Linked DNA regions of Homo sapiens: regions 2, 3 and 4 are each linked to region 1. Evidence: promoter capture Hi-C in human tissues and cell types (Jung and others, 2019). All regions are on one chromosome and are shown on one strand. The core of a region is centred on a gene start or on the middle of the fragment in contact, and the rest is flanking DNA. Distances in the headings are between cores, read along the strand shown. Region 1 holds the start of UBAP1 (ubiquitin associated protein 1). Region 2 overlaps UBE2R2 (ubiquitin conjugating enzyme E2 R2). Region 3 overlaps UBE2R2 (ubiquitin conjugating enzyme E2 R2). Region 4 overlaps UBE2R2 (ubiquitin conjugating enzyme E2 R2).

The links. The method cuts DNA at HindIII sites, captures the fragments that hold promoters and counts their contacts. A contact is called where the count stands out against the background at its distance.
Region 2: a contact is called between a fragment that was not itself captured here and the fragment with the promoter of UBAP1 in region 1, in 3 of the 25 tissues and cell types used here (mesenchymal stem cells, spleen and thymus).
Region 3: a fragment that was not itself captured here is called in contact with the fragment with the promoter of UBAP1 in region 1 in 2 of the 25 tissues and cell types used here (dorsolateral prefrontal cortex and hippocampus).
Region 4: a contact is called between a fragment that was not itself captured here and the fragment with the promoter of UBAP1 in region 1, in 1 of the 25 tissues and cell types used here (dorsolateral prefrontal cortex).

Annotation. Positions count from the first base shown.
Region 1 is chr9:34,177,746-34,180,445 of GRCh38, reverse strand. It overlaps UBAP1 (ubiquitin associated protein 1), which reads right to left and starts at 1,403. Exons shown (of 7, transcript NM_016525.5): 1 at 1,206-1,403. RefSeq lists enhancers at 1-438, 439-1,395, 1,161-1,590, 1,396-2,354. The HindIII fragment of the contact is 11,539 bases long and covers 1-2,700 here.
Region 2 is chr9:33,904,345-33,907,044 of GRCh38, reverse strand. All of the region lies in intron 3 of UBE2R2 (ubiquitin conjugating enzyme E2 R2), which reads right to left. Among named protein-coding and RNA genes, the nearest start is that of SNORD121B, 29 kb to the left of the region's middle. The HindIII fragment of the contact is 6,422 bases long and covers 1-2,700 here.
Region 3 is chr9:33,836,164-33,838,863 of GRCh38, reverse strand. All of the region lies in intron 1 of UBE2R2 (ubiquitin conjugating enzyme E2 R2), which reads right to left. Among named protein-coding and RNA genes, the nearest start is that of UBE2R2-AS1, 19 kb to the right of the region's middle. The HindIII fragment of the contact is 6,070 bases long and covers 1-2,700 here.
Region 4 is chr9:33,887,387-33,890,086 of GRCh38, reverse strand. The region is part of intron 2 of UBE2R2 (ubiquitin conjugating enzyme E2 R2); the gene reads right to left. Among named protein-coding and RNA genes, the nearest start is that of SNORD121B, 46 kb to the left of the region's middle. The HindIII fragment of the contact is 8,086 bases long and covers 1-2,700 here.

The sequences.
Region 1 (2,700 bases), core at 154-2,653:
ACCTCCGCCTCCCAGGTTCAAGCCATTCTCCTGCCTCGGCCACCCGAGTAGCTGGGATTACAGGCGCCTGCCACCACGCCCGGCTGGCTTTTTAGTAGAGAAAGGGTTTCAACATGTTGGTCAGGCTGGTCTTGAACTCTTGACCTCGTGATCCGCCCGCCTCGGCCTCCCAAAGTGCTGGGATTTCAGACGTGAGCCACAGCGCCCGGCCAATACGGAAACTTTTAGTTTAGGTTGGGACATTAACTAGAAAGAACTATATATCACTAAAGACTAAGTATCTTGTTTTTCCCACCATCAAATCTGACAAAATTAAAAAGGAAAACATCCATCATATCTATTCAAATTCTCAAATGCTAATAACTGAAGAGACAAAGCACTAACGAGTAAAGTTAGAACAGAATATACGTAATACTTAACTAAATTACCAAATCTGGTTTCGCAACACTGCATGGTGACTAAAAGTAACAATTTTTTTTTCAGTTTAACATAAAACGTATTTTTATGCCCAACCATACTTTTAAGACGCTAGTCTGGAAACAATTACATTTGGCAACAAAGGTCAAAGATCACTGATATAGCTCAAATAAATGAACCTGACGTTCCACAAGAAAGACTGGGGCGGTTCCTGAGGCCCAGGTGGACTGTATAGGTAAGCCTCCACCCAAGAAACAAAAAAGGCGGATAAACATACCTGGAGAAGACCAGACAAGGCCAAAGATATCCCCAAAGATCACTCACCTCTGGTCTAGTCTCCACCTTTTCTCCCCAATCTCATTGCCTCAGGGAGAACTAAATCTACACCGCACGTCCCCAGCTCACCCTCAACTCCCCACCACTCACCTTCTTTACTAAAATCTGGGTCCCCCTCCCTGACATCCTCTAGTTCCCACCGAGTTCTCAGTCCAGCCCGATAGATGTCTACTATGCCTGTCTTCCAGTAGGGTATTAGTCTCCTTAATCCGAACTCATTTTTCCGCATCCCACTTCCCCTCCGCCCCTTCAACTCCGGTCCCCTCACTCCGACCCTTCTCCCAGAATCCTCCCCGAATCGCGGATCTCCGGCCACTTTTCCCTCCCACCTCCTAGCTCCGGCGCCCTTCACCTCGCTCGGCCCCCCATCCCGTTTCCCAGTCTCCCAGTACCAGCCCCCCTCCCCCAACTCCGCCCCTCTTCCCCCTCCCCCAGAGGGAGGCCCCCCTCACCTGAATGCCGCTGCTGCCGCCGTCTCAGAAGCCGAAAGGTGCTGGCACCGGCCGGCCTCCCAGGCTCGGTCCCCGCTGAGCTCCCGACAGCCCCTAGGGAGAGCGAACGCCACCACCTCCAACTCTGCCCGCTCCGGGCCAGGCCGTCACCGTAGCCACCGCCAGTGCCGCAGCCGCCATGTTGAAGTCCTACTTCCCTCCTCCTTCCCCTCACCGCCCCACTCATTTGGGCGTCTGACGTCATGGCGCCGCGCTCCACACGCCCGGACCAATGGGAGGAGCCGACGGTGACATAACTAATCTCTCTTCTAGCGAGGAGCTACTCCGGCAACATGGAGCATTGCAATTGGAATGAGTAAACCCTGCTGACCTAAGGGGGAAGGAGGAAAGGAGGGGGTCACTAAGAGTGTAAGACTTGGGTTTGGCGAGGCGGCCAAAGCGGGAAACCCAAGAGCCTTGAATCGCGAAGGTATGCCCAAAGAGTTAGCAGCGAGTCCTATTTGGGAATTAAGACATCTAGCTTCTGTTCAGGGTCAGCGACCTGGTACAACTCATACCCTTTCTGGACCTCACTTTTCCCATGTATAGAGGACTAAGTTGAAAGGTGACTTCTAGGCCGGGCGCAGTGGCTCACGCCTGTAACTCCAGCACTTTGAGAGGCCGAGGCAGGAGGGTCGCTTGAGCCCGGGAGGTCGAGGCTGCGGTAGCCGTGATCGCGCCACTGCACTCCAGGTGGGCAACGGAACGCGACTCTGTATCAAAAGAAAAAAAAACAAAGGTGACCTCTAAGTCTTCCTTCAATTCTGACATTCTATGGGTTTAAACCAGGTAATCCTATCCCAAGCCTTCACTGCCTTCTGTGGGGGTTTTTGTTGTTGTTGTTGTTTCTGTTTGGGGTGTTTTTTGTTTTTTTGAGACAGGGTCTCGCTCTGTCGCCTAGGCTGGAGTGCAGTGGCGCGATGTTGGCGCACTGCAACCCTGCAACCTCCACCTGTCGGGCTCAAGTGATCCTCCCACCTCAGCCTTCTGAGTAGCTTGGACTATAGCCACATGCCAACACGCCCGGATAATTTTTATTATTTTATATATATATATGGAGAGACGGGGTCTCACCATGTTGCCCAGGCTGGTGGTAAACTTCTGGGCTCAAGCCTCAGTCTCCCAAATTGCTGGGATTGTAGGCGTGAGCCATGGCGCTGGCCTTCTGTGTCTTTCTATGTCTGCTGGAATTAGGAGACAGAGAATTATTAATTGAATAAGATGACTCTTGAGCCCAGGAGTTCAAGACCAATTTAAGCAACATGAGACCCCCGTCTCTACAAAAAGTTTGGTAAAAATTAGGTGAGCCTGGGCAACATAGTGAGACCTTGTCTCTACAAAAACTCAAATTATCTGGGCGTGGTGGCATGTGCCTGTGGTCCTAACTATTCAGGAGGCTGAGATAGGAGGATCACTTGAGCCTGAGAGGTCGAGGCTACAGTGAGCCAGGATTGTG
Region 2 (2,700 bases), core at 40-2,539, 270 kb after region 1:
TTTAAAAGACAAAGCAAACTTGGGTCTCACCCGGCCCCCAGGCTCCAGTGCAGTGGCAGAATTACAGCTCACTGAAGCCTTGACCACTTGGGCTCAAGTGATCTTTGCACCTCAGCCTCCTGAGTAGCTGGGACTACAGGTGCACACTACCATGCCTGGCTAATTTTTTTGGTAGAGATGGAATCTCGTCATGTTGCCCAGGCTGGTTTTGAACTCCTGGGCTCAAGCAATCCACCTGCCTTGGCCTCCCAAGTTGCTAGGATTAAGGACATGAGCCACTGCGCCTGGCCTAAAGAAGTATTTAAGGGAAATTGGAAATTAGGATTGTATGACCCAATGCGTAATACTCCATTTGCCCATTTTCAACATGTCGATAACCCTTTCTCTGTTAGCTACTATGTCACCATAAGCATAACTTTAACAGGGTTGTGATAGCCCTAGCATCACAAATAAGACCTGGCTCGAGGGTCTGCCTGGAAACCAAGCAAGAAAAGTTCATAATTTTGAAGGATTACAGACTGGCACCTTCCCCTGGTCCCACCTCCCATGTATATATCATCCCTCCAGACAGCATGGGAGAAGTAGAAAGGGCTTATTCCTAAAAACCAAAAAATCTAAGCTTATGCCAGGTGTGGTGGCTCACAAGTATAATCCCAGCACTTTGGGAGGCCGAGGTGGGCGGATCACCTGAGGTTGGGAGTTCAAGATCAGCCCGACTAACACGGAAAAATCCTGTCTCTACTAAAAATACAAAATCAGCTGGGCATGGTGGTGCATGCCTGTAATCCCAAGTACTTGGGAGGCTGAGGCAGGAGAATTGCTTGAACCCAGGAGACGGAGTTTGCAGTGAGCTGAGATCGCACCATTGCACTCCAGCTGGGCAACAAGAGCAAAACTCCATTTCAAAACAACAACAACAACAACAACAACAGCAACAACGACGACGACGACAACAACAACAACAAAACCTGAACTTACTTCACGCCATAATCATGGGCAAGCATGCATGTATGCACATGTGCACACACACAAACACACACGCAGATTGATTTAGATATTGAGTTTTATAGACCCAGCGTAATGTGATGACAGTTGATGTGTGAAGTCCAGGTCTCTGGAGCCAAACCTAAATCCTGCATACTGTTACTACCACTCTTACTGACTCTGGGTTCTACCCTGACCTTTCTAGTTGTCCTGGGTCCTTAAAATCTCTCATTTCCACTCTATCAAAGGATGGGCCAGTAACTACAGATGACTAGTTAAAGCTCAGTCCTCATTGCATGTTTCAATGTGGGGGAGGGATTTAAAGAGGACATCATGACAAAGAATAAAGAAGCCTGTTATGATAGGGAAAACAGGGCAACTGATGGTAAAATATAGTAGCTTAACGGGTTTACATTATTATAAAGTTTCTCTTTAGGCTGCTAAAGCAACCAACAAATATAACACCTCCTTCTGTGCAGTGCTGGATCTGCTGCTGACTGATGTATCCCTGAGAATGCAAGGTAGGAATACAACTACAGTTTTTAAATGCCCAAATTATGTATCATCTGCAGAGAATGGAATTGGCAGGTTGAGGGCAGTGGGACCCCATGCACAAAAACCAAGGAAGCAAATAAATAAAACCACACTGTTCCAGAATTGGGTTTAAAAGAGCTTTAGGAACAGCATGGTTATGCCTGTTTCCCCTGACTGTGCTTACTTTGGCACCCAATGCTAGGGGTGATGTCTCTGGCTCTCTGTTCTTAAGACTAGACAGAAAAATATCCTACCCCACTTCTGAGACAGACTCTTTTATACCAAACAACAGCCTCTCTTGATTGGGTTAATAAATTTGGTTTCACGCTTTATTTTTGAAATTGAAAAAGAAAACATTATGTATGCCTCTTTCAACATAAAGCAAATCCACACCAAGACCACTTCACCATCCCAGAGCCTATAGCAGATAGTAGTTCTGGGGATGGTGTCTCACAGAAAGCAGCTGTGAACTCTATAGCAAAGTCTGAGGGCTTTGCTACTCCCACTCCCACCCTACCCTATCCCCAAAGCTCCCACATCATTCTAGACAAATCATGTATTAAGGCACATTTTGTTTCCTCCATCAGGAAGAGGCATAATGCTGTGAACTTCTAATCAAAGACGTGTGGCAACTCCCAACTCCATTCTTGCTGACAAATGCCTACTCCTTAAAACTTTCCAATTCAGGAAGAAACTCTCCCCACCACCTCCAGCCCCACCAATTTAATCCTGGGCCTCTGGGAGGAGGAGGCCTGTGGATGTTTTCTTTCAAAAGAAGTATGCTGGTTTTCCCAAGAGGTAGCAAGCTACCGAGCCTTTAGTGAACACCAGTTGGCTGATTCTCTGCATCCCTAAAATTCTTCCTTTTCAGGTTGGCTAACTCTCACTACTCACCAGATCTGATAATACAGACTGACTTAGACTCTTGAAGGTAACTGGAGTCCCTTATTCTTCAAGTTACAAAAGTGCTCCATTTGCCACTTTATGTTATAAATATGTCCATTGAGGTGCTGAACAATAGTCTTGAGTACACGTGGTTATGGAGAAGAAAACCAAATACGTGAATATGGAATCACTTTCAGATGCCAGTGAGAGGCAGCAGATAAGACTCCAAAACAGGATGAGATGAACCCTATGCCATCTCCACTGCTGTCTTACTACAGCCACCCATAAACTGGACAT
Region 3 (2,700 bases), core at 178-2,677, 340 kb after region 1:
TGATCCACCCACCTCGGCCTCCCAAAGTGCTGGGATTACAGGCGTGAACCACCACGACTGGCCAGACCACAGCAACTATGTAAAACAATAATACTGTTGCTTTAGAGGTTTATAAGAAAATATACCATCAATAGGGCAAAGGACAAGAAGGAGGTAAAGAGCTAAATGTACGGTTCTTGCATTTCCTGGGAAGTAATAAAACCAACTAACATAAACTAAACTGTAGTAAATTAAGAATCCATAATCCACCTGTCTCAGCCTCCCGAAGTTCTGGGATCACAGGCGTGAGCCACCATGCCCAGCCAAGATATACACATTTTATTGTATGTACATACACCTCAATTTAAAAAAAAACTATTAAGCAGATTAACATTAGCAAACATCTCAGGAAAGTTTACCATGAAACACTTAAAATACAACTCAACGTGAAGAAAACAGTCCATGCAGGAAAAGTAAAATGTATTAAAAATGTATATATATATGTACATACATATATATAAACATTATATACGTATACACAGTAGGCCCTCCATATCCCTGGGTTCTACCAACAGTGGATCAAAAATATTCAAGCGAAAAAAAAACAAGAAAAAAAAAACAGTAAAAAAAGCAATAAAAAATAATACAAACTAAAAAATACAGCTAGACTGCCACTGCACTCCAGCCTGGGCAACAGAGCAAAACTCCATCTCAAAAAAATAAATTAAAAAAATAAAGCATATGGGAGAATGTGCACAGGTTAAATGTAAATACTATATCATTTTATATAAGGGACTTGACCATTCAAGATTTTGGTATCAGTGGGGGTCCTTGGAACTCCCCCTATGGATACTGAAGGACAACTGTAAATAATGGCTTATATATGAGACATATAATTACACATACATAAAACTATGTATACTTCTATATAAGCTATATATATTTACCTATATATCTGTATATACATGATGTCTTCAGGGAGTTAATAGGAGAAACGACAACCATGATCAAGACATCAAAACCAAGACATCAAAAACAGAATGTTGGCTAAGCCCAGTGGATCACACCTGCAATCTTAACACTGTAGGAGGAATGCTTGAGCCCAGAGTTTGAGACCAGCCTGGGCAACATATTGAGACACTGTCTCTATTAAAAAACAAGAACAGGCCAGGTGTGGTGGCTCTGTAATCCTAGCACAATGAGAGGCTAAGGCAGGTAGATCAATTGAGCTCAGGAGTTCAAGAACAGCCTGGGCAACACAGCAAAACCCATCTCTACTAAAAATATAAAAATTAGCTGGGTGTGGTAGCAGGTGCCTACAGTCTCAGCTACTTAGGAGGCTGAGGTGGGAGAATCTCTTGAGCCCAGGAGGCAGAGGTTGCAGTAAGCTATGTTCGCACCACTGCACTCCAGCTTAGGCAGCAGAGCAAGAGCAGACCCTGTCTCAAAAAAAAAAAAAAAAAAGAAGCAGCAGCTGCCTAAACTGAAAATAAGAGGCTGGGCACAGTGGCTCATACCTGTAATCACAGCACTGTGCATGGTCGGGGCTGAGATAAGAATATCGCTTGAGCCCAGGAGGCTGAGGCTGCAGTGAGCCTTGATCGCACCCCTGCACTCCAGCCTAAGCCACAAAGCAAGATTCTGTCTCAAAAACAAATAAAGGAAAAAAAAGAGAAAAAGATATGTTAATTAGAAGAATTAATTCAGACTGTTCTATATCCAGATAATGGGTGCTCCCCAAAAAACATGAGGAAAAACATAGAGGAGAAAATATCTTGAAATAATTCAAGAAAATTTCCCAATGCTGAAAAACATGAGTTTAAAAGTACCTACAGCAATGTGAAATTTAAGAAATCAGGGACACACAGAGTCCTGCAAACTTCCAGAAGAAAAAACTCTTCACATACCATGCACAGGATTTAGAACATTCTTGAATTTCAAACATCATCTTTGGAACTAAGAACCCAATACAGTAATGTCCTCGAAATTCTAAAGCTACAGGATTTCCAATCTAGAATTCTATACCCAGCCAAGTAATTTCAAGTATAAAGTTAGAATAAAGCTTCAAAAAATTTACCTGCTAGGCACACTTCCTCAAGAATATATATATATATATTTTTTTTTTTTGAGATAAGAGTCTTGCTCTGTTGCCCAGGCTGGAGTACAGTGGCATGATCTTGGCTCACTGCATCCTCTGCCTCCCAGGTTGAAGTGATTCTCCTGCCTCTGCCTCCCGAGTAGCTGGGACTACAGGCATGTGCCACCATGTCTGGCTAATTTTTTGTATTTTTAGTAGAGATGGGGCTTTGCCATGTTGGCCAGGATGCTCTCAAACTCCTGACCTCAAATGATCTGCGTGCCTCTGCCTCCCAAAGTACTGGGATCATAGGCATGAGCCACCAAGCCCAGCAAAATATTCTAAAATTGACTGTGGTGATGATTGCACAATTCTGACTAAAAACCACTGAATTACAGTCATATGTTGCCTAATGACAGGAATATGTTCTGAGAAATGCATCATTAGGCAATTTCATCATTGTGTGAACATCATACAGCATGCTTACACAAAAATGGTATACTTGTACCTAGATGGTATAGGCTCCTACACATCTAGGCTATATGGTATAGCCTATTGCTCCTAGGCTTCAAACCTGTACAGCATGTTACTATACTGAATATTGTAGGTGAGTAGCTGGGATTATAGGCGCCTCCCACCACGCC
Region 4 (2,700 bases), core at 177-2,676, 290 kb after region 1:
TTTGACTCCTTTATCCTATTTTTCTGTTTCTTTTTTGAGAGGTGTTTGGGAATTAGATAACTGAGATGGAAATAGTATGTATATGGCTTTAAGAGCAATTAACTCTCTGCTGGGTGCGGTGGCTCACGCCTGTAACCCCAGCACTTTGGGAGGCCGAGGTGGGAGGATCACAATCAGGAGTTAGAGACCAGCCTGACCAATATGGTGAAACACTGTCTCTACTAAAAATACAAAACTTAGCTGGGTGTGGTGGTGCACACCTGTAGTCCCAGCTACTCAGGAGGCTGGGGCAAAAGAATCCTTGAAGGGAGGCAGAAGTTGCAGTGAGCTGAAATCATGCCACCACACTCCAGCCTGGGTGACAGAACGAGACTCCATCTCAAAAACACAAAAGTAATTAGCTCTCAATTGCAAGACAAAAGTTTGCTCCTTCTCACTTCTCTCTTGCTATCTAAAATCTATATATACACCACGTAACTGTAAAGGCAAAAACCTTTAATTATTAGACAGGGACATTGTTATGGTCTGAATTTTGGTGTCACCCATGAATGGGATTAGCACCCTTATGAAAGAGGCAAGAGAGGGCCGGGTGCGGTGGCTCACGCCTGTAATCCCAGCACCTTGGGAGGCCAAGGTGGGCAGATCATGAGGCCAGGCAATCGAGACCATCCTGGCTAACACGGTGAAACCCTGTCTCTACTAAAAATAAAAAAAAAGAAAGAGGCAAGAGAGAACTGCCTTGCCTCTTCTCCCATAAAGATGCAACAAAACAGGCTTGAAAAACAAGCCCTCAACAGACCAAATGTGCTGGTGGCTTGGTCTTGGAATTCCCAGCCTCCAGAATTGTGAGCAATAAATTTCTGTTGTTAATATATTATCCAGTCTAAGCAAATGTACTAAGACAGACACCAAAATACTGCTGTGCGTACTGAACTCAGTTTGAACTTAGGAAACAATGAATTATTTCTACAGACTCTTTCCTACAAAAGGAAGATAATGTTGTTACACAGAACAGTGTAGTCACTATTGTTTATTTATATTATGTCAAATATTAAACAATATTTAGAAAGCTTATTTCTAAAAAGAAAACTATATATCATTTCAGTACCAGTCTGTTCTGTCTGAAAAAGAAAAATTAAGATATCTTACATAAGAAACAGACTGTGGAAAATGACACAGCTGCCCCAATGTGCTCATTTATACAGAATGAACTCCAAATTCAAGACCCTAGAGCGAGTTCTCCATTTCTTGCCTAAAAGCAATTTAAAGGTGGCCGGGCATGGTGGCTTACCCTGTAATCCCAGCACTTTGGGAGGCCAAGGCAGGTGGATTACTTGGGGTCAGAAGTTCGAGGCCACTCTGGCCGACATGGTGAAACACTGTCTCTGCTAAAAATACAAAAATTAGCCAGGTGTGGTCGTGCACACCTGTAGTCCCAGCTACCCAAGAAGCTGAGACAGGAGAATCGCTTGAACCCAGGAGGTGGAGGTTCAGTTAGCTGAAATCGCACCACTGCACTCCAGCCTGGGTGACAGAGATTCCATCTCAAATAACAAATAAATAAATAAAATAAAAGTAATTTAAAGGTGATGTTAGCTCAGTTTCTGGAGCAAAGGTACTTCCAACATCCACAGGGCCAAAAAAAAGAACTGATGCATGACTAAGATGGCAAGACTCTAAAGCAATTTCAATGCTTGGGATGCTGCTACGAAAAAATGAGACCACTGCAAAACCATATTGCAAATAAAAGATTACAGAATTTTTTTTTGTTTGTTTTTTTGTTTTTTGAAATGGACAGAGCTGGCAGGCAGAAAATAAGTAAAGACATAGCTGGACTCAGCAACACCATTCTTCAAGTGTATATAATGAGCATTATAGACTACTACACTCGTAACTGCAGATTACACATTGTTCTTGAGTTCACATGGAACTTTCATGAAGATATACCACATTCTGGGCCATAAGGCACATACTGACAAATTTTTAAAAATAGAAATCATACAATGTCTGCTTTCAGATCACAACGGAATTTAACTGGAAGTTCCTAACAGAAAGATACCTGCAAAATCCCCAAAACATTTGGAGATTTAAAAACACACTTTTAGAATAGTAGGCCAGGCGCGGTGGCTCACGCCTGTAATCCCGGCACTTTGGGAGGCCGAGGTGGGTGGATCACGAGGTCAGGAATTCAAGAACAGCCTGGCCAACATGGTGAAACCCCATCTCTACTAAAAATACAAAAATTAGCTGGGCATGGTGGCGCATGCCTGTAATCCCAGCTACTCGGAAGGCTGAAGCAGGAGAACTGCTTGAACTGGGAGCCGGAAAGCAGAGGTAGCAGTGAGCGAGATTGCGCCACTGCACTCCAGCCTGGGCTACAGAGCGAGACTGTCTCAAAAACAAACAAACAAACAAACAAACAAACAAACAAACAAACAAAAAAGCACACTTATAGAATAGTGAAGAGTAGCCTCAAAGGAAAAAAACTAGCGGGCCCTCATATATCAACCTGAGAAACAGAATGCATTATTCTAGTATCCTTATGGATTAGCCCAAAGCTAAGTACGTTTCATCAACAAAGCTAGAAATGCTTCCCCCAGGCATGTGCACTTGTCTAGTACAAGAACCTCACCTTGAATTTATTCCAAAAGAGCCTCCCAAATGTTCAGCAGCAATTCCTAAAAGGAGGCCAGTCCAAAT